Linked DNA regions of Homo sapiens: regions 1, 2 and 3 are each linked to region 4. The links are contacts of gene promoters, found by promoter capture Hi-C in blood cells and fetal thymus (Javierre and others, 2016). All regions are on one chromosome and are shown on one strand. Each heading gives the region's core, a stretch centred on a gene start or on the middle of the fragment in contact. The rest is flanking DNA. Distances are from core to core; before and after follow the strand shown. Region 1 holds the start of INTS6L (integrator complex subunit 6 like). Region 2 overlaps XIAP (X-linked inhibitor of apoptosis). Region 3 overlaps STAG2 (STAG2 cohesin complex component). Region 4 holds the start of SASH3 (SAM and SH3 domain containing 3).

Region 1 (4,960 bases), core at 558-3,057, 5.7 Mb before region 4:
TTTATCTGGCCACTGCAGGCAAAGCAGCAGTTCTTTATCTCCTCACCATAGGAACATAAATTACCCCACAGAGACCGTCCTCCCTACTTTTCTCCTGTAGGTCAGAATCAAATCATCGAACTTGACTATTACAAATGCTCACATTTGAGTCCTCCCCTTCCTTTCTTTCTTGTCCCTGGATTAATTCCTACGTGGCTAGCACAAACCTAATTTATGATGTAAATAGGTAGAGCGGATCCCTAAAAAGCTCTGCCCCTGTGGGTTCGCACTTGGCACGTCCCCCTCCGTGTCGTTGCTTCGCTGGAATTTCCAATGAAACAGTAACAGTAGCTAAGGTAACTGAGAGCGGGGCTGAACCTGGCCAATTCCGGAGCAGAAACGCAAAGACTTTCTCCGGGTCTGGGGGTGGGGAGACTGGCGTCGCGGACAGATTTCCGATTGCGCGGGGGTGGTGAGAGGCCAACGAGTGCAAAGGCGGTTGTCTAGTCTTTGAAGGCCGGCGGCTGGCTCTGCCACGCTCTCAGCAGGAAGGGGAGGGGACCAGGAGGAAGAGGGGGAGAAGGAGGAGATGCAGCGAAGAGCCCAAGGAGGGGGAGGAAGACCGGGGGAGGAAGGAGGGGCCAGAGGAGGAGCCCAGGCTCCGGGAAAGCCCGCGCGCCCGGCCGGCAGGACCTCGGGGCGGAGTCGCAGGCTCCGTCCGGCCCCCCGCGCGGCGACCCTCGCGCGGTGCGCCTCGAAGGGGCGGGCCCGCCTCGCAGCCTCCCTCCGGGTTTCGGGCCCTCCTTCCCCGCTCCTCCCTCCCCTCCCTCCTTTCCATCTCAGCAGCGCCCTCAGTCTCCCTCTCGCAGGCTCATACAAAAGCAAAATGTCCGCCATGTTCCGAGGCGGCTGCGGTTGTCGCGCCACGAGCTCGGCCCTCCTGCGGTTTCTCCCCGGGGCTGCTCCTCCCCGGTCCCCTCTCCCCGACCCCAGGCGCGACAGCTACTCCGAAGCCGCCGACGGCACCACTCCGCCCGCCCTCTGCGCACCCCCTCGCCGCCCGCCCCGCCGGGCGACGCAGGACCGCCTTAGGCGGGGGCAGGGGGGTAAGCAGCCCCCGCCGACTTGCTCCCGCTTCCCGCCTGTCCCCCCACCCGTAGCCCCTTTACCTTGATGCAGTACGGGGGTTCGTCGTAGGTGACCAGCATGTACCTGTCTCCACGGCTGGCCGGGTCCCGGGCGCGCAGCTGCGGGGCAAGGGATGACGGAGGGGGTCGCGTAGGAAAGGAGGGGGGAGGGCGATACAAACGTTACAGAAGCACCTCAATCCACACCCTGAAATCCCTCGGGAGCTCTCCCCATCTCTCCCCTCCCCTCCCTTTACCTTCAAGAATAACTCCACAGCGCCTTTGGCAATGTCCAAATAAGAGGTGCCCAGGTCAGTGCGCTGGTTCATAGAGGCGGACGTGTCTATGAGGAACAGCAGGATGGGCATCTTCCCCCGCACTCCTGCCTCCGCTCCCCACTCTCCCGGCCCTCTTGCCCTCACTGCCGCGTACGGCCACCTGAACCCTCAACTCTCGCAGAGCCGGGGAGCAAGGAGCAAGAGGAAGAGGGGGAGACGGGACGGGACGGGACGGATGGGACCGCTCCTGGCCTCCTCTTTCTGCAGCCCCACCTCCTCTCCCTCCAAGGGAACTTGAAAGTGTGAGCGTGTGTAGCCCTCGGGGCCCTCCCCCTTCCTCTCTTCTGCTGCCACCACTACTGCCGCTGCCAGGACTACTGCCTAAGCATCCGTCCGCGCTCACTAGAGCGCTCGCCCCAGACTGAGCGCCGTCTCTGTTCACTGACAACTTCTGTCTGCTCACCTACCATCGGCACCATGTGACCAGAACCCATGCCATTGGCTGCCAATTATGTGGTATTTGCATATTCATTAGATGACAGGACTAGGGGAGGGACTTGGGCGAACCCTGGGAGTTGAAGTTTGAACCCAGGCAGAGGGTAAGGGGAAGTGTTACGGACCCTCGCTAGGATTCTCCTTTAAAGGACTTGGAAGCAGTTCGAATGATTAGTTCGGGTGGTTTAAATGGATTTTTCTGTCTCTCTTCAAAGATGGTGATTCGAAAAGAAGAGTGAATTTGAGCAACAGTTGTACAGAAGTACAGAAGCAGATGCTTGGACAGTTTGCACAGAAAATTCTTCGCTAACTGCAATCGATCAATCCTGCCAGTGGCGAAGACGAAAATATTTCAGAAGCAGCAAACTTCTTTCCTGGCAGGACGTACTCACATTCCTTTAGATCCCTCCCCCGTCTTGATCAGTATTTGTGAGTTGGTTGCTGGCCTTGCATTCCACATATATCTACTTAGAAAGGAAACTAAAGCTTAAACACAGTTACAGTTACCTAAACTGGCCTTTTGTATGCACAAGCTTCTTCAGTTTCACTAAGCTCTTTGAAACATTGGCCTGCCTGTGATAATTCCACCACTGTTCCCTCTGCGCAGCCTTTACACATGGAGGTTTGCAAACCTAGATTGTGATTCAACTCACATATTTATTTATTTATTTATTTTTATAAATAAATAAAGAGGATCTCGCTTGATCGCCCAGGCTGGAGTGCAGTGGCCCCATCATAGCTGCCTGCAGCGTCCAGCTCCTGGGCTTAAGCGATCCTCCCATCTCAGCCTCTCAAGTAGCTGGGACCACAGGGGCAGGCTCTCAACTCACATTTATTGAGTGCCTATGAAGAGCCAGGCACCCACGGTAGCCTTGTTTAATCTTTGAATTAATTATGGCAGATGGCATTGTATTCAATTTTCAGTAGAGGAAAATGCAGCTCCCTGAGGTTAGGGTAACAATTACGGATACTCTCAGGTCTGGCTCTGTGAAGAGACTCAGTAAGTGGCCAACCACACTTGATTGACTACTTCATATGACACAATTTTAAAAATTGGACTTGTGTATTCCTGGCAATTACTATTGACAATGTGGAATCCAGGACTTCAATGAGTTTGCAGTTTCATTGAGGAGAGATGATGACATATACATACATAATATTTTATATATTTTGGCCAGGCGCAGTGGCTCATGCCTGTAATTCCAGCACTTTGGGAGGCCGAGGTGGGTGGATCATTTGAGGGCAGGAGTTTGAGACCAGCCTGGCCAACATGGTGAAACCCCCGTCTCTACTAAAAATACAAAAATTAGCCGGGCATGGGAGCAGGCGCCTGTAGTCCCAGCTACTTGGGAGGCTGAGGCAGGAGAATCACTTCAACCCAGGAGACGGAGGTTGCAGTGAACTGAGATCACACCACTGCACTCCAGCCTGGGCAACAGAATGAGATAACATCTCAAAAAAGTATTTTATATATTTTATATACACTCTCTCTCTCTCTCTCTCTCTCTATATATATATGTATGTTCTGTGTATATGTTTCATATATTATATATGCACATTCAATAACATTCTCAGAGAAATACGATTTTAAAAGAAGTCATATGGCAGTATATGAATCAGGGACAAACAAGGATGCAAGTTAAAAAGTGCTATGGAAACAATGGTCCAGTCTAGAAATTCATAGGATTTCACGAACAAGGCACAAAAAGGGAAGAGAGGGAATCTGGGTTGGAAGGAATGATATGAACAAAAACTCAGCCAAAGATAGTACTATGTATGGTGCATTTCAGGCCATTCTGGTGGAAAGTAGGGAATTAATGAAGAAATAAGGATGAAAAAGATACTAGAAGCCCCCATTTCCATTCCGATACAAATGTCAGTGTAGAAGGGCAATGCCTACATGGGCTAGGGTACAAAAAATATAGGACTGTTGGGGGCAGTGTGTTAGTTTTCTACTGCTGTTTAACAAATTATTACAAATTTAGTGGCTTAAAACAACACAAGCATTTACTATCTCACAGTTTCCATGAGTCAGAGGTCTAAGTTTACCTGGGTTCTCTACTTAGTCTCATAAGTCTGCAGTCAACGTGTCAGCCAGGCTGTTTTCATCTGGAGGTTCACCTGGGAAAGAACTGGCTTCCAGGCTCATTCAGATTTCTGGCAGAATTCATTTCCTTGGGGCTGTTGCTGGTGACCAGAGGCCACCTTCAGGTCCACCTTCTGTTGCAGGTCTCTGCCATATGGCTTTCTCCATTGGCTGTTCACAACATAGCTGCTACTTCAGGGCCAGCAGAGAAATCTCTTACTCCAAGATGGAGCCTTATGTAATGTAGATAATCTCAACTAGAAGCAAGTCACAGGTCCCACCCACACTCAAGGAAAGAATATTATACAGGATGTAACACCAAGGATTGGAGATCATGGGGCCAGCTAAGAATTGTGCCTAATATTAGATAGGGATGGGATTATTAAGATGGGGATGTGATTATTTCCTGGAAACAAACTTTGCCTAGTTCACAGTTTTTATGAGATGGAATCTTGCTCTGTCGCCCAGACTGCAGTACAGTGGCATGATCTCGGCTCACTGCAACCTCTGCCTCCCAGCTTAAAGCGATTCTCCTGCCTCAGCCTCCTGAGTAGCTGGTACTAGAGGCATGTGCTACCATGCTCAGCTAATTTTTATATTTTGAGTAGAGATGGAGTTTCACCATGTTGGCCAGGCTGGTCTCAAACTCCTGACTTCAAGCGATCCACCCACCTCGGCCTCCCAAATTGCTGGGTTTACAGGTGTGAGCCACCGTGCCCTGCCTGTTAAAGTCAATTTTGAGTAATACTGTACAAACTTTCAGCCCACCGAATAAATGCATTGGGTTGACTTGTTGCTTAGACTAGCCTTTGGTTGAAGAATTACAAGATTTCCTATGAGGAGTTTATATTTTATTTTGTGAATATCTATATGTGTATGTGTGTATGAGAGAGGAGAATAAGGACTGCTGAGCCATGATATACCCCAGTTTACAAATGGTATTTTAAGATGACATTAAAATATCTCCTTTATACTTTCCTCCCAACTTTTCAATG
Region 2 (5,088 bases), core at 2,257-4,756, 5.9 Mb after region 4:
GAAACACATATTTCTTTTATAACTTAAAATACTCAAAGGCCGGCACAGTGGCTCATGCCTGTAATCCTGGCACTTTGGGAGGCCAAGGCGGGCAGATCACATGAGGTCAGGAGTTCAAGACCAGCCTGGGCAACATGGTGAAATCCTGTCTCTACTTAAAATACAAAAAAGGCTGGGTGTGGTGGCTCACACCTGTAATCCCAGCACTTTGGGAGGCTGAGGTGGGTGGATCACGAGGTCAGGAGTTCGAGGCCAACCTGGTTAACATGGTGAAACCCCGTCTCTACTAAAAATACAAAAATTAGCCAGTTGTGGTGGCGTGCGCCTGTAATCCCAGCTACTCGGGAGGCTGAGGCAGGAGAATTGCCTGAACCCAGGAGGCGGAGTCTGCAGTGAACAGAGATCGCAGCCATTGCACTCCAGCTCTGGGCGACAGAGCAAGACTCTGTCTCCGAGGGGAAAAAAAGAGATACCAAAAAAAAAAAAATTAGCCAGGTGTGGTAGCACACGCCTGTAATCCCAGCTACTTGGGAGGCTGAGTCACCAGAATTACTTGAACCCAGGAGGTGGAGGTTGCAGTGAGCTGGGATCATGCACTGAACTCCAGCCTGGGTGACACAGCAAGACAATGTCTCAAAAACAAATAAATAAAATAAAATATTCAAAATACCCTTTTATTTTTTTTGAGTCGGAGTCTCGCTCTGTAGCTCAGGCTGGAGTGCAGTGGCGCAATCTCGGCTCACTGCAAGGTCCGCCTCCCGGGTTCACACCATTCTCCTGCCTCAGCCTCCCAAGTAGCTGGGACTACAGGCGCCTGCCACCACGCCCAGCTAATTTTTTGTATTTTTTTTTTTTTTTAGCAGAGAGGGGTGCCAGGATGGTCTAGATCTCCTGACCTCGTGATCCGCCCGCCTCAGTCTCCCAAAGTGCTGGGATTACAGGCGTGAGCCACCACGCCCGGCCTTAAAATACCCTTTTTATGTTTTGAATTCAACACCTAAAATAACATATCAAAAATGTGAACATGTAAAGAAAGATGGGGTCATTGACATGCACAATCCCACAGCTAATTGGAAACAAAGTCAATAACCTGTACTGTGGTACCCAACGTAGGGCTCTTTCCAAACACTGTAGCACATGACCTCTAAGATACAGAAACAGTATTTGTTAAATTCTAAAGTATTTTTTATCTTATCACTACTGTTTGTCTCTTCATATCTACTCACACAATGTCCTTTAATAGTGCTAACAGGTTACATTTTATAAAACTATTACCAGATTATCTCACAGAGATAAAGCTTGAGAATTGACAGCTCATGATAATCTCCCAGCCTCAAAAGAACAATGGAAAAACAAACAAACACACAAAAGCAAAATAAAAACAGACGAACATAAAAAAGCAAAAAAAAAAAAAAAAGAAGAAAGGCGGCCTGGTGTGATGGCTCGCGCCTGTAATCCCAGCACTTTAGGAGGCCAACGCAGGCAGATCACGAGGTCAGGAGAATGCGACCATCCTGGCTAACATGGTGAAACCCTGTCTTTACTAAAACACACACACACACACACACGGTGAAACCCTGTCTTTACTAAAACACACACACACACACACACACACACACACACACACACACACACACACACGAGAATGCGACCATCCTGGCTAACATGGTGAAACCCTGTCTTTACTAAAACACACACACACACGGTGACACCCTGTCTTTACTAAAACACACACACACACACACACACACACACACACACACACACACACACTCTAAGCCGGGTGTGGTGGCGGGTGCCTGTAGTCCCAGCTACTTGAGAGGCTGAGGCAGGAGAATGGCGTGAAGCCGGGAGGCAGTGCCTGCAGTGAGCCAAGATCGCGCTACTGCACTCCAGCCTGGGCAACAGAGCCAGACTCCGTCGTCTCAAAAAAAAAAAAAAAAAAAAAAAAAACAGAAGAAAGGCATTTGTTTTGCCATATTTATCCTTGGAATCCTACCACATACTACAATGAATGCCTGGAACACATTAAGTGCTCAATGAATGTTTATTTCATAAACTGTAGGTTTTGCTCTCTGCTAATACTACCTACCAGACTTAAATATTAGACCAAACAAAAACAGTGAAATATCATTATTTTATCGCTAAACATTTACAATATAAATACAGGATTTACTAAAGAAATTAATGTTTACAATGAAATAAAAGGAGAACATTTATTTACTAAATTAGTAAATTTATTTAGTAAAATTTATGTTACTAAAATATTTTAAGCACTATACAAATTAGCTGGTCCATTAATTATAATAATTTTGAGAAACTGCTCACTTCCTGAAAATGAAAAAAAAAAGGAAGACAAAATAAAATAAAAACCAAAGAAAAAAATAATAATTCTTAACTATTGAAATGGTCCTGGCTAACCTTTAGATATTATTACTTTGTCAGCCTAGTTGGAATCATCCAATGCACTAGAAAGCAATAAAATTACAGGTATAGTACAAGGGCCACTAGACTAGAACCTAGACTCTAGTCCAAGCTTTGCTAATAATCAGATATATTACGGTGGGCAATATTTTTTTTGAGTCTTAATCTATTTCTAAAAACGAGACAGCTGGGCCAGGTGCAGTGACTCACTTTTTCACCTGAGGTCCCAGCACTTTTTCACCTGAGGTCGGGAGTTTGAGACCAGCCTGACCAACATGGAGAAACCCCGTCTCCACTGAAAATACAAAATTAGCCGGGCGTGGTGGCGCATGCCTGTAATCCCAGCTACTCGGGAGGCTGAGGCAGGAAACTGCTTGAACCTGGGAGGCAGAGGTTGAGGTGAGCCGAGATCGCACCATTGCACTCCAGCCTGGGCAACAAGAGTGAAACTCCATCTCAAAACAAAAACAAAACTAGACAGCTGAACTCCTAATCACTATAAACTGTTTTAGTCTTAACTTTTTATTTGTTTTTGAGGTGGAGTCTCACTCTGTGGCCCAGGCTGGAGTTGAATGTTGCGTTCTCAGCTCACGGCAACCTCCGCCTCATGGGCTCAAGTGGTTCTCCTGCCTCAGCCTCCCAAGTAGCTGGGACTACAGGGGTGTACCGCCACACCCAGCTAATTTTTGTATTTTTAGTAGAGATGGGGTTTCACCATGTTAGCCAGGCTGGTCTTGAACTCCTGACCTCAGGTGATCCGCCCACCTCAGCCTCCCAAAGTGCTGGGATTACAGGTGAAAGCCACCGCACTTGGCCCTAGTCTTAACTTTTTTAAAAAATATGTTCTTATCTACAAAGAGTCTACAATTCAGATTTTTGTTTCTTTGTTTTGTTTGAGACAGGGTCTCACTCTTTCGCCCAGGCTGGAGTACAGTGGCCCAATCATGGCTCACTGCAGCCTCCACCTCCCAAGGCTCAGGTGATCCTCCTGCCTCAGCTCCCCAAAGTAGCTAGGACTACAGGCACAAGCCAGCACGCCCGGCTAATTTTTGTATTTTTATTAGAGAGAGGGCTGCGCCATGTTGCCCAGGCTGCAGATATTTTCCTTGTGTCAATTTTTTTTTTTTTCGGGACAAAGGTGCACTGTTGTCACCCAGGCTGGAGTACAGTGGTGCAATCTCGGCTCACTGCAGCCTCTGCCTCCTGGGTTCAAGCAGTTCTCCTGCTTCAGCCTCCCATGTAGCTGGTACTACAGGTGCACGCCACCACACCCGGCTAGTTTTTTTAGTAGAGGTGGGGTTTCACCATGTTGGCCAGTCTGGACTCCAACTCCTGACCTCAGGTGATCTGCCCGCCTTGGCGTCCCAAAGTGCTGGGATTACAGACATGAGCCACAGCGTCAGGTGTCAAATTTTTCTTGTGGTTTATTAAAAAAAAGGGACCTAATTAGCCAGGTGTGGTGGTGGGCACCTGTAATCCCAGCTACTTGGGAGGCTGAGGCAGAAGAATCACTTGAACCTGGGAGGCGGAGGTTGCAGTGAGCTGAGATGGTGCCATTGCACTCCAGCCTGGGAAACAAAAGCGAAACTCTGTCTCAAAAAAAAAAAAAATGGACTGGCCAGGCGAGGTGGCTCATACCTTTAATCCCAGCACTTTGGGAGGCCGAGGCGGGTGCATCACCTGAGGTCAGGAGTTCGAGATCAGCCTGGCCAACATGGGGAAACCCGGTGTCTACTAAAAATACAAAAATTAGCCAGGCGTGGTGGCGCATGCCTGTAGTCCTAGCTACTGGGGAGGCTGAGTAGCTTGAACCCAGGAGGCGGAGGCTGCAGTGAGTCAAGATAGGGCCACTGCACTCCAGCCTGGATGACAGAGTAAGACTCCGTCTCAAAAAAAAAAATTAATTAATTAATTGATAAAAAAAAACACCATGCTAATCTTCTTTGAATTGTTCGAATTTTAGTATATGTGCTACCACTGAAGCAAGTACCCAGATTTGATATTTTAAATGTGTTAAAAGTTTGCTACATTATTTGATAATCAAGAAGCTTAGGACAATTTCTAAAAATATATGACGACTAGTAACATATTATTTTTACTATCTTACATTAGGAGAGAGCAATACAAGAAAACGAAACATGAGTATCCAATAATGAGGTCTGCTTTGTCAGCTGAGTTGACCTGAATCATACCGGATTTTACAGTACAAACCACTGATATGTATAAATACATATATGCACATAAATGTGTACATACCATTGGTATATACTTGCTTATGTTGATATATATATTTGTGTGGGAAGGTGTGAACTTTAAAACTTTTCAATTATGAAATCAATACGAATTTATAACAAATTCAAACCGTACATTAGATCATGTGAAGTACAAAGTAAAAAGTCTTCTATCTCTCTTCTCCTCCATAAGTCATTACTATTAACATTTTTATTGTGTATCCTTCAAGAAACTATCTGAGCAAATGCAAGTATACACACGTACATGTGAAGGTGTGTGTATAAATCTAAACTGTTGCCACTTCTTGAATGTGGGGGTGGGGGGGAATCTCAAGTACTCCATAAGCATGTTAAATACATTGAAATACATAGAAAGTGGTACCACAGTCACTGGTACAAAGTATTATACTCTTCAGAAATGTGTGTTGAATTG
Region 3 (5,070 bases), core at 1,906-4,405, 5.8 Mb after region 4:
GCCACTGCACCACAGCCTGGGCAACAAGCGCGAAACTCCATCTAAAAAAAAAACAGAAAGGAAAAAGAAAACTGAGACTAAGATACCGATCACTAATGAACCTAATAACTTGGGGCCCTGATATTAACTATTTATCACCTGATAACAGTAAGAACAAGAAAACTTAATAGTGAAAGATGAACTAAAATAGGAAGTATAAGCAAACAGGAGATATTAACAGAATAAAAAAGAATTTTTAAGGTACAATTAAATAACAAAAAATACCCCTAAAGAACCAGAGCGCTGAATTATTAAAGATTAGCCTAAACTTTTTACTTCGAATCTAACCACTCAGTAAAACAAGCTGAAGGACTGGGGAACAATTCTCAGACACATGTAATCTCCATTTTAAATAGAGCATAAATGACCTAAAAGAAAAAATATCTATGAAACCATTTCATGTATCACATGATTCCCCCCCCAAAAAATTCAAGAATACAATTCATTATCCCACAAACTTTAATAAGCATATGCAAACAAAACCAATGCTCAGATTTATTTCAACTACTTCTATTACTATTAAAAGACAATATAGACCTCAGGCAGCAACTTATCTGACTCTGGGTAAAAATCTATATTTACCTTGCACTATACATGAAAAAGAATCTTGATTTTGTAAAATTAAAATAAGAATGCATGCTCTCTGATGACAGATAGCCCAAGACCTAAACCAGATAAGGGAAACAACTGAGTTTAACAAAAAAGCACAAAGGTTTTGAGGCCAGGCTAATCTGAGTGTGAATCCATGTGACTTGAGACAAGGCATTTACTCTCTGAGAGCGTCAATTTCCCCACGTGTAAAATGATGAGGACAACCTATCCTGCAAAGTGGTTGAGAAGATTAAACAGAAGATTAAAGCATTACTGGCATTCAGTAGGAACTTAAATAGCAGTTAAATTAAGTTTCTTAGAATGCTTCAGGTTTCAAAAGTTATTCTTGCAAAAATGTAAATAGGACTTGTTTTTCACCCCCCTTGAACGATGTACAACAGAATTTAAACAACTTTTTGAGATAGGGTCTTACTCTTTTGCCCAGGCTGAAGTGCAAAGGCATGATCATGGCTCACTGCAGGCTCAACCTGCTGGGGCTCAAGTGATCCTCCCACCTCAGCCTCCCCAGTAACTGGGGCCACAGGCTGCACAACCATACCCAGCTAATTGTTAAATTTTTTTGTAGAGATGGGGTCTCCCTACGTTGCCCAGGATGGTCTCAAACTCCTGGGCTCAACAGATCTTCCCACCTTGGCCTACCAAAGTGCTGGGATTCAGAGGGTGAGTCACCACGCCCAGCCAACTTATTTCTTACAAAGAAATTTTACCTTTGAATGGTCCCTTAAGTTAGGCAGAGCTTACTGAAATCTCCCTAGTTTGTCTCATCAAGCCTAGTAATGTATTTCCCAATTAAAATACAGTCATGTGCCATATAATGACATTTTAGTCCACAACAGACTGCATATAAGACGGTGGTCCCAGCTGGGTGTAGTGGCTCATGCCTGTAATCCCAGCACTTGGGGAGGCTGAGGCAGGCGGATCACGAGGTCAGGCGTTTGAGACCAGCCTGACCAATATGGTGAAAGCCCGTCTCTACCAAAAATACAAAGATTAGCCGGGTATGGTGGCATGCATCTGTAATCCCAGCTACTTGAGAGGCTAAGGCAGGAGAATCGCTTGAACTCAGGAGGCAGAGGTTGCAGTGAGCCAAGATCTCGCCACTGCACCCCAGCCTGAGCGACAGAGGGAGACTCCATCTAAAAAAAAAAAAAAGACAGTGGTCCCATAAGATTATAAGGGAGCTGCCCTATAGAGGTGTACTATTTTTTCTTTTATACCGTATTTTTATTGTATCTTTTTTGTTTTCAAACACAAATACTTACCACTGTATTATAACTGCCTACGATATTCAGTACAGCAACATGCTGTACAGGATTGTAGCCTAGGAGCAACAGGTCATACCATATGGCATAGATGTATAGTAGGCTATTCCATCTAGGTGTGTGTAGGTACACTGTATGATGCTCACACAACAAAATCACCTAAAGATGCATTTCTCAGAAGGTATGCCCGCCGTTAAGCAATGCATGACTGTAATAAAAAAGAATAGGCCAGCTGGGCGCAGTGGCTCACGCCTGTAATCCCAGAACTTTGGAAGGCCGAGGCAGGCAGATCACCTGAGGTCGGGAGTTCGAGACCAGCCTGACCAACATGGAAAAAACCCCGTCTCTACTAAAAGTACAAAATTAGCCCGGTGTGGTGGCACATGCCTGTAATCCCAGCTACTCGGGAGGCCGAGGCAGGAGAATCGCTTGAACCCAGTAGGTGGAGGTTGCAGTGAGCCAAGATCGCACCATTGCACTCTAGCCTGGGCAACAAGAGCAAAACTCCGTCTCAAAAAAAAAAAAAAAAAAAAAAAAAATACACCATTGACATTATTCATCCTCTCTTTCTTCGGCAGAAGGAATGGAAAACAATTTCAATAATCTCTTCTTGGCCAGGCACGGTGGCTCCGCCTGTAATCCCAGCACTTTGGGAGGCTGTGGTGGGTGGATCACCTGAGGTCAGGAGTTTGAGACCACCCTGACCAACATGGTGAAACTCTGTCTCTACTAAAAACACAAAAAATTAGCTGGGCGTGGTAGCGGACACCTGTAATCCCAGCTACTGGGAGGTTGAGGCAGGAGAATCACTTGAACCCGGGAGGCAAAGGTTGCAGGGAGCCCAAGATCATGCCACTGCACTCCAGCCTGGGCAACAAGAGCAAAACTCCGTCTCAAAAAATAAATAAATCTCTTCTTGACTTACTACAATAACCATATGTAAAGACTTCTTGGTGTCTACTGGTGAGTATCAAAGATCTATAGCAAGCACACATTAAAAACACAATTCAGGTAGCAGATTACCACAGCTGCTGAAGATGCATAGATTTTTAAAAGGCACATCAACAAAAATTAGACTCCACTAAGCAACACCACTTACACTGAAGAAATATAAAATTTGGGTAAATTAAACGTAAAGCAGTCAACTCAAGAGACTGAAAAATCAAACTGATAATTTTGCTTTATCATATATCTTTGCCAATCAGAACACGCAATAACCATCATTTATGATACCCAGAAACATAAAGAATTATTACACAGGGACAGTACTGAAACACGAACTAAAGTCCTGAACATGTAGCCAATGCAGAAAAATGTTAAGAACTTTTTTTTTTTTTAAACGGAGTCTCGCTGTCGCCCAGGCTACAGTGCAGTGGCGCGATCTCAGCTCACTGCAACCTCTGCCTCCCAGGTTCAAGCGATTCTCCTGCCTCAGCCTCCCAAGCAGCTGGGACTACAGACGCGCACCACCACGTCCAGCTAATTTTAGTATTTTTAGTAGAGATGGGGGTTTCACCATGTTGGCCAGGCTGGTCTTGAACTCCTGACCTCATGATCCGCCTGCCTCAGCCTTCCAAAGTGCTAGGATTACAGGCGTGAGCCATGGTGCCCAGCCAAAAACTTTTAAAATAGCCTATGTCTTTAAAGTTCCTTCCTTACTCTCCAACAATCACACTTCAGTATATACTGATGCCCATACCTGAAACTATCCCTCTCCCTCGCTATTCTCCCCAACTCCCAAAACGGTACTCCATTATATAGTAAACTGTACATTTTAGTTTATTTTTAATTTTTTTTTGAGACAGGGTCTTGCTCTGTTGCCCAGGCTGGGTGCAGTGGCGCAATCGTGGCTTACTGCAGCCTCTATGTACCGGGCTCAGGTGATCCTCCTGCCTCAGCCTCCCAAATAGCTGGGACCACAGGTGTGCACCACCACACCTAATTTTTAAATTATCTATAAACATGGGGTCTCCCTATGTTGCCCAGGCTGGTCTTGAACTCCTTGGGCTCAAGTGATCCCCCCACTTCAGCCTCTCAGCCTCCCAAAGTGTTGGTATTACAGGTGTGAGCCACTGTGCCCCGCCGATTTTGGTTTAAGTTCAAAAGTCAACTTGCAGCATCAAAAACTGAAGTCTGCCATCTATTATAAAGAACCCGAAGCAGAAAGATTATGCTATTCTCTGTTTACTACCTTCCCACATATGACTGTGGGTGGTATCAGTTAAACATGCACAATATTAAGCATTACTAAACTGCATATTTTCACATCTAACCCTAAATTCCCAAAGGAATAGATCTGAGCCTTAGCCTGTCCCCCAAGCCCATCCCATTCACTTTAATTCATAAGTCCTCAGGTGACCGCAGAAGTCAATACAGTTGAAAAAGAAATGTAGAATTTGATTTCATGAAAATCTTATTTGAGCATTTGGGCTTTAAAAAATCCTAACTAAATATACTTGAAAGTTACCAAACTCATCATGTGTTAGTGTAGTAGTTTAGCTATTGCCTCACCACAATAAAATAAATCTGATGCCACAATCCTTACCATCTACTAAGAATATTTGTATATGAATAAAAATTTGAAATATGTCACCTATTTTCCTTTAACATCCTTCTAAAGCTAAAATCCTGAATATGAAATACACAAACAGACTAATGGTAACAGTTACAAAATGTCTGTTCCCAGATTGGGGTGAAATTTTGCTATAAATTAAATATCCATTGTTTTGGATTCCTTTCGGAACTGTGACATGTATTTTTAAAATGTATCTCCTGGGGGAAAAAAATAAACCTGACACTGAACAGTATAGAACTGCCAAAAAAAAAAAAAAAAAAGGCACTTACCTTAATAGAATTTAGGAGCAGTTCACAAATGCACTAATTAAGGGAGACCAAGGATTGTCATTGCAACACATTTTTACTGTTTACGGGTAATGGTCAGAATGTTAACAGACAATATTGAAATATTTTACATATCAACTTCTAACTAGTTATAGCACCAGATCCTTGGGGCATGAGGTGATTTAAACCATTTTAAATGTAAACACTCATTTTCTTATCAGTTAAAAAAAAAAAAACCCACTCCACCCTCTCTGCCAGTCTCTGATACACCTTAGAATACTATAGTTACTTCACAGTGGGAAGGAATAGCTAATAA
Region 4 (5,526 bases), core at 1,488-3,987:
GACTCTTCTAGCGCCTTTGAGATCAACAAGGGGACAAGAGAGTGGAGAGAGAAGGGGTCAAGATTCTGGAGTCAGACAAATCTTGGCTTGGATCCCTGCTCGGCAGCTTCCCAGCTGTGTGACCTTCAGCAAGTTGCTTCACCTCTGTGAGCCTCAAGTGTCAAATAGGGATAATGACAATATCTGCCCCTACCTCACCAGGTTGTCGTGGGGAGTGAACAAGGTAAGAGATGCACAGCACCGTGCCTGGCATCCCATGAGCTCTCACTCTGTGGTGGCTCTTAGTACTATTAAGTCTTGTGTTCTCTGTGCCAGCACTGGGGGCATGGCTCATTCTTCTTTGCAGTGTCTCCCTATCCCCACCCATGCCTACAGCAGGCACCCCCTTGTGTGGTATGCACGTGCACACTTGTGACAGGGTACTCTCACATCTATTCTTTTGGGTGATCTGTACAACCTCTTGAGGGGGGCAGATTAGGAGTTATCCTCCTTTTCAGAGGCGAGGAAACTGAGGCCCAAAGAAAGTCAATGAGCTGTCCAAGGTCCTACAGCTAGAGCGTGGTAGGATTCCAGCTCAGCTTTCTTGCCCCCTGTCTGGCACATTCTCCATTGGCAGGCCCAAGAGGAGAAGCAGGGGCAGGAGAAAGAGGCCTCTCTTGCCTTTGTGCTTTCCTCTCCACCACGTCATCTCAGCCTCTGAGAAGAAGGGACTAGCAGTGATTCAGCCAGCCCGCTGCCTCTGGGCCTGGGGAAGATGCTCTGTACCTTCTGGAAGCTTGGCTTCTGGGGGACATTTCCATAGTCTGGGGCTAGCAGAGTGTGTGGAGGCAAGCTCATCCCAGCTCTGGAGGCTGGCACCGGCTCTGGCAGGGGTTGGGGTGGGGTTTGCCTGGACTACTCTCCCCGAAAGGACCCCTTCTCCTGGGAGAGACCTGGGGAAATCCCAGGGGCCCACTTGCCTGCCGAACACAGAATCTGGGTAATTGAAGCTGGGAAAGAAAAAGGGGACTTCTGGCTTCTGTGTGCCCCTAGGTACGTCTTCCTGATGTGGCACAGGGTCCCAGTGTCAAAGTGTCAGCTCTTTCTCACACTTTCCTCCAGCTCAGCGCCCCTGTGGTTTGAGGCCTAGCAGTGTCTATAGAGCAATCTCTGTTTCCCACCCCCACCAGCCAGAGAGCAAGGGGAAGTGGCCCTGCTCTCTTAGGAGTGGCAGCCAATGGCAGTCCTGCTGGGCCTAGCACCCTGCAGGGTTTGGACGGGGATGACAGAGCCCGTGTGAAGATTCATGAACCTCCCCCCTCCCCCGCCCACCACCACTGCAACCTTAGAGAAGCAGCTGGGGTGGGGAGAATACAGCCGGAAGTGGCAGCCACCCCAGGACCTGAGAGCTGGGGCAGGATGCACACCCCACTGCCCCGAGTCTCAGTCTTTCAGCTGCCTTGGCCTCCATCTCTGAGCTACTCCCCTGACAAGGGGGATCCACCATAGGGCACCTGGGCTGAGTTCCAGGGAAAATTGGCGGGGGATAGCCTGGGCCTCTTGGACCTAGTTCAGGCCTGCTTTGGGACTGTCCTAGCATCCCATTGGATGTGTAGGATATACTTGCTGATTGTCTGGGAGAATCCTTCAATTGAATTAAAGAATTAGGTCTAGAAATCCTCAAACCCAACCAAAGAAATCTGGAAATCCTCAAATTCAACCACAAAATCCTAGATCTGGCACAGCCTTCAAGGATTCTTCCAGTCCGGTCTCTGCCCCAGGGGGATGAACACCTCAGCCATCCATGACAGCTGTTTTTCCTCCTGGCCTTTAAAATCCTCCCTCCTCAGCCTTCACTCCTACTCACCACCTCAACTTAATTTCTCATTCCCCACCCAGGAAGAACCTGTATGCCCCCTGCATCCCACTGCACTTCCGGATGCCTTTTCCCCCAAGACTGGAATGGCCTCAGGCCCCCATCTCCAGGTTGGCTCCATCTCGGGTAGGGCCTGGGAGCTACCACAGAGCTGAGCCAAGTGGGCAGGGTCTGGGCCATGGCCAAAGTGGAGGAGGGGGTGGCAGTCCTGTGAGCATCATGGCTCCAAGCTGGGCAGCCCAGCAGGGCCCTTTGAGTGAGATGGCTCCTGAGAGGCCGTGGCCGGGGCAGAAGTGGCAGCAGGACCAGCGTAGAGGAGAGATAGTTAAGTACAAGCTTAGGGTTCAGCTTAAGCATTGTATTTTGTTATTCTCAAATTCTAGTCTAAGATTCTGGCCCCTAATTTTAGATCTTTTTTCCCATTCTTCTAGGGTTGAATTGCATGACTCTAGATTTCTAAGGATCTATTCTGTAACTCTGTTGCTCCAGAATTTTAAACATCTCTTCTGTACTTCTGTTAACCTTTGGGTCCCTGTCCCGTTGCCTTCTAGGTGAGTGGCCCTCACCTACAGACTCAACATATGGCCTTTGGCTCTTCCCACTTCCAAGAGTCTTGGAAGGGATGGGTCGAGCAAGCAGAGGAAAGGAAGATGTGAGTTCCCAAAATGCTCCTCACCTTTTTCTTCTGAGTGGGCTCCTTCTCACTGGCATTGGAGGGCTTGCGGCGCAGCATGGTCCTCCACCCTGGGAGACTCCGTCCCTGCTCTCCTAGGTGTCAAGATGCAGAGGCCTCTTGCTTAGCCTCACCAGAACTGCCCGGGGGCACGGCATGAACCGAGCCTTCAGCTGCCACTCTGACTGCTGCAGTGGCAGCTTGGGGGTGCGGGCCATGGACACCCGGCAGCAGCAGCATACAGGAAGCCCTGCCACGTGACCTACTCTTACAGCAATCGCAGCCCCTGCCGGCCCCTAGGGAGGAAGGAAGTCCAAGCTTCAGTCTCCAGAGATTCTGATGCAGACGGCTCTTGGGTTGAACAGTCAGAGAAAGTCCCTACCTTGTTGTCTCATGTCGATCATCATCAGTCCTTCTGCTCCATCTTCCTAGAGGTGGACAATCAGCTCGACATTATATGGCGTACCCAAGCCCTTTATCTCACTGACCAGAATCCAGAAACCAGAAGTTGGACCATCTGGCTGCCTGTTGGATCAATGCTCCCGGTCAACTCACGTCTTCAAGGTCGTCACTGCCATCACTACCACTACCATCACCCCTGTGACCATCACCACTGCTACCATCACTCCTATCAATAGCCATCACCATACAGCCATCACCCCTACAGCCATCAGGCCTGCAGCCATCCCCGCTGCCATCAGCACACCTATAGCCATTGTCACTATGGTAATCACCTCTACAGTTGACATCCTTCAGCCATCACCTCTACAGTCATCACCATTGCTGCTATCACCCTTCCAGCCATCATCCTTACAGCTGTCACCCTTCTGGACATTACAGCCAACCGCACTCATGACCCTCTCACCCCTATAACCATCGTCCCTACAGTCATCTCTCCTACAACCATCATCACATCCGTGCAGCCATCAGCCCTGCAGCCATCACTCCTACAGCCATCAGTACACCTAAAGCCATCATCACTAGAGCAGTCACCCCTCCAGTCAGTACCCCTCAGCCATCATGAGTATATTTATCACCACCACAGCTGAAAAGCACTTACAGCCAACTCCACACCTCTAGCAAGTATCCAACAGGCATTTATCAAACACCTATGCAGTATATTCAATTTGTGGGTTGTCTGTGGCAGATTTTAATAACTTTAATAACTTCTTGGTATTACAAAAGCAACTTGTATTTGTCATACAATTTCACAAACACATAAACAAAAAAAATTTCAAAATTTCCCATCATTGTCCTCTACACTGTTTTAAGCATCTATCTACTCTCTGTCTATAAACATTTTTTTTCTTTTTACAAAAATCATACTGCTCAGAAAACAGATAATTGGTTTGGGGAGAAGGGGAGGGGAGAGAAGGGAAGGGAGACATCACACAGGGTAACAGGAAGCTTTTAGGAGTGATGAATATGTTCACTATCTTGACTGTGGTGATGATTTCATGGGGGAATACACATGTCAAAACGTATCAAATTGTATACTTCAAATATGTGCAGTTTATTGTAGCTCCATTATACCTCAATAAAGCTGTTTAAAATTTTTTAATTAAAAAAGGTCATAATTCACACTATTGGTGTCTGCTTTTCACACTAAACACAGTATCTTTTTTGTTTTTTTTTCGAGATGGAGTCTCTCACTCTGTCTCCCAGGCTGGAGTGCAGTGGCGTGATCTCGGCTCACTGCAACCTCCACCTCCTGAGTTCAAGCAATTCTTGTGCCTCTGCCTCCCAAGTAGCTGGGACTATAGGTGCGTACCACCACCCTGGTTAATTTTTGTATTTTTTGTAGAGACAGGGTTTCACCATGTTGCCCAGGCTGGTCTTGAACTCCTGGTCTCAAGTGACCTCTTTGCCTCATCCTCCCAAAGTGCTGGGATTACAGGCGTGAGCCACTACGTCCAGCTGAACACAGTATCAAGATTGTCTCATGCTATGAAATAGTCTTCAACTACGTAATTTATAACGGCTGTGGAACATCCCATTGTGTGGATGTGCCGTGCTTATTTCACCAAGCCCTTGCTGATGAACTTGGGTTGGCTTAAATTTTTAAATTATTCATTGAACATACTTATGGTAAATATTCACATCCATAGTTTTTTTTCTGTAGGGGAAATATCCAGAAGAGGAATTGCTGGGGTCAAAGGTATGCACATTTTTAAGGCTTTCAATTCTGTGGTACTTGTGAAATACTAGGCTTGTCCACCCCTGTTCCCAAGATGTTCTCGTGACTTCCTCTCCGATTCTGCTTTATGCCCTCTGACCATCCAACCTTCAGGGTGAGCTCAGGGAAGATAAGATCTTTCTTCCCTAAGCTGAAACCATACATTCTTTGGCCTACTCAGTCGGCCAGGCAGACTCATGAAAAGATTCCACACCCCAGATCTCCTTCCCACTGGCCTGTGTTTTCCACCCTGAAAGTCCCTCCCAGGCGGCCCAGGGTCACTAGCAAGCGCGGTAACTGGTTAAGGCTTTTCGGCATATACAGTAGCCTGGCAGCCGTGTAGGGGACCCATCGGGCCTTTGGGGCTCTGCGTGACCAGGAGCAGGAGGGCAGCCCCAGAGGGTTCTGGGATTGGGGACGCCGCTGTAGTGGCCTGGGGCACCTGGAGCCAGAGCCGTGAGGGAGGAAGCAGGTCGCAGAATCTTCCGGGCCTGCGCAGCGGCTGCGTCCCTGGCCGCCTCGCAGGATGTGCCCGCTTCCTGTTTGCTCAGCGCCGGCAGCGACAGAAGATCACACACTAACCGCAGAACCTTCAAAGGCGGCCAGCAAACCAGGGCACAGGGCTGGCGAGGCTTGGGAAAAGGCAGCGAGAGGGAGGTGAGGGTGCCTTGGAGAGAAATATGGAGAGGTGACCAGCTCCCAGGACAGAAGGGAGCAAGTGTTTTCAACGGCTTCCTTCGTTCTCCTTTTCAGATCTGTCTCCTCTGTTCAGGAACACCTCCTCCCCGCCACCTGGGGACCGGGGCCAGTGGAGGCGGGGTG

The links. Contacts are between HindIII fragments. The CHiCAGO score rates a contact against its expected background, and 5 or more counts as called.
Region 1: a contact is called between the fragment with the promoter of INTS6L here and the fragment with the promoter of SASH3 in region 4, in 1 of 17 cell types (total B cells). The highest score is 5.7, in total B cells.
Region 2: a contact is called between a fragment that was not itself captured here and the fragment with the promoter of SASH3 in region 4, in 1 of 17 cell types (M0 macrophages). The highest score is 9.5, in M0 macrophages.
Region 3: a contact is called between a fragment that was not itself captured here and the fragment with the promoter of SASH3 in region 4, in 1 of 17 cell types (non-activated CD4 T cells). The highest score is 6.0, in non-activated CD4 T cells.

What each region holds. Positions count from the first base shown.
Region 1 is chrX:135,517,507-135,522,466 of GRCh38, reverse strand. It overlaps INTS6L (integrator complex subunit 6 like), which reads right to left and starts at 1,807. Exons shown (of 18, transcript NM_001351601.3): 1 at 1,364-1,807; 2 at 1,149-1,226. The coding sequence starts at 1,474. INTS6L-AS1 (INTS6L antisense RNA 1) reads left to right here and starts at 1,793. Exons shown (of 2, transcript NR_046740.1): 1 at 1,793-1,900; 2 at 2,095-2,384. RefSeq lists silencers at 704-903, 964-1,233 and enhancers at 1,484-1,543, 1,574-1,653. The HindIII fragment of the contact is 2,771 bases long and covers 1-2,367 here.
Region 2 is chrX:123,861,321-123,866,408 of GRCh38, reverse strand. All of the region lies in intron 1 of XIAP (X-linked inhibitor of apoptosis), which reads right to left. Among named protein-coding and RNA genes, the nearest start is that of XIAP, 3.8 kb to the right of the region's middle. The HindIII fragment of the contact is 1,936 bases long and covers 2,539-4,474 here.
Region 3 is chrX:123,964,639-123,969,708 of GRCh38, reverse strand. The region is part of intron 1 of STAG2 (STAG2 cohesin complex component); the gene reads right to left. Among named protein-coding and RNA genes, the nearest start is that of STAG2, 5.5 kb to the right of the region's middle. The HindIII fragment of the contact is 7,160 bases long and covers 1-5,070 here.
Region 4 is chrX:129,777,160-129,782,685 of GRCh38, reverse strand. SASH3 (SAM and SH3 domain containing 3) reads right to left here and starts at 2,737. Exons shown (of 8, transcript NM_018990.4): 1 at 2,532-2,737. The coding sequence starts at 2,588. LOC124905215 (a long non-coding RNA gene) reads left to right here and starts at 152. Exons shown (of 2, transcript XR_007068328.1): 1 at 152-223; 2 at 2,407-4,111. RefSeq lists enhancers at 780-829, 940-1,119, 2,387-2,446, 2,497-2,576, 2,827-2,986. The HindIII fragment of the contact is 655 bases long and covers 2,194-2,848 here.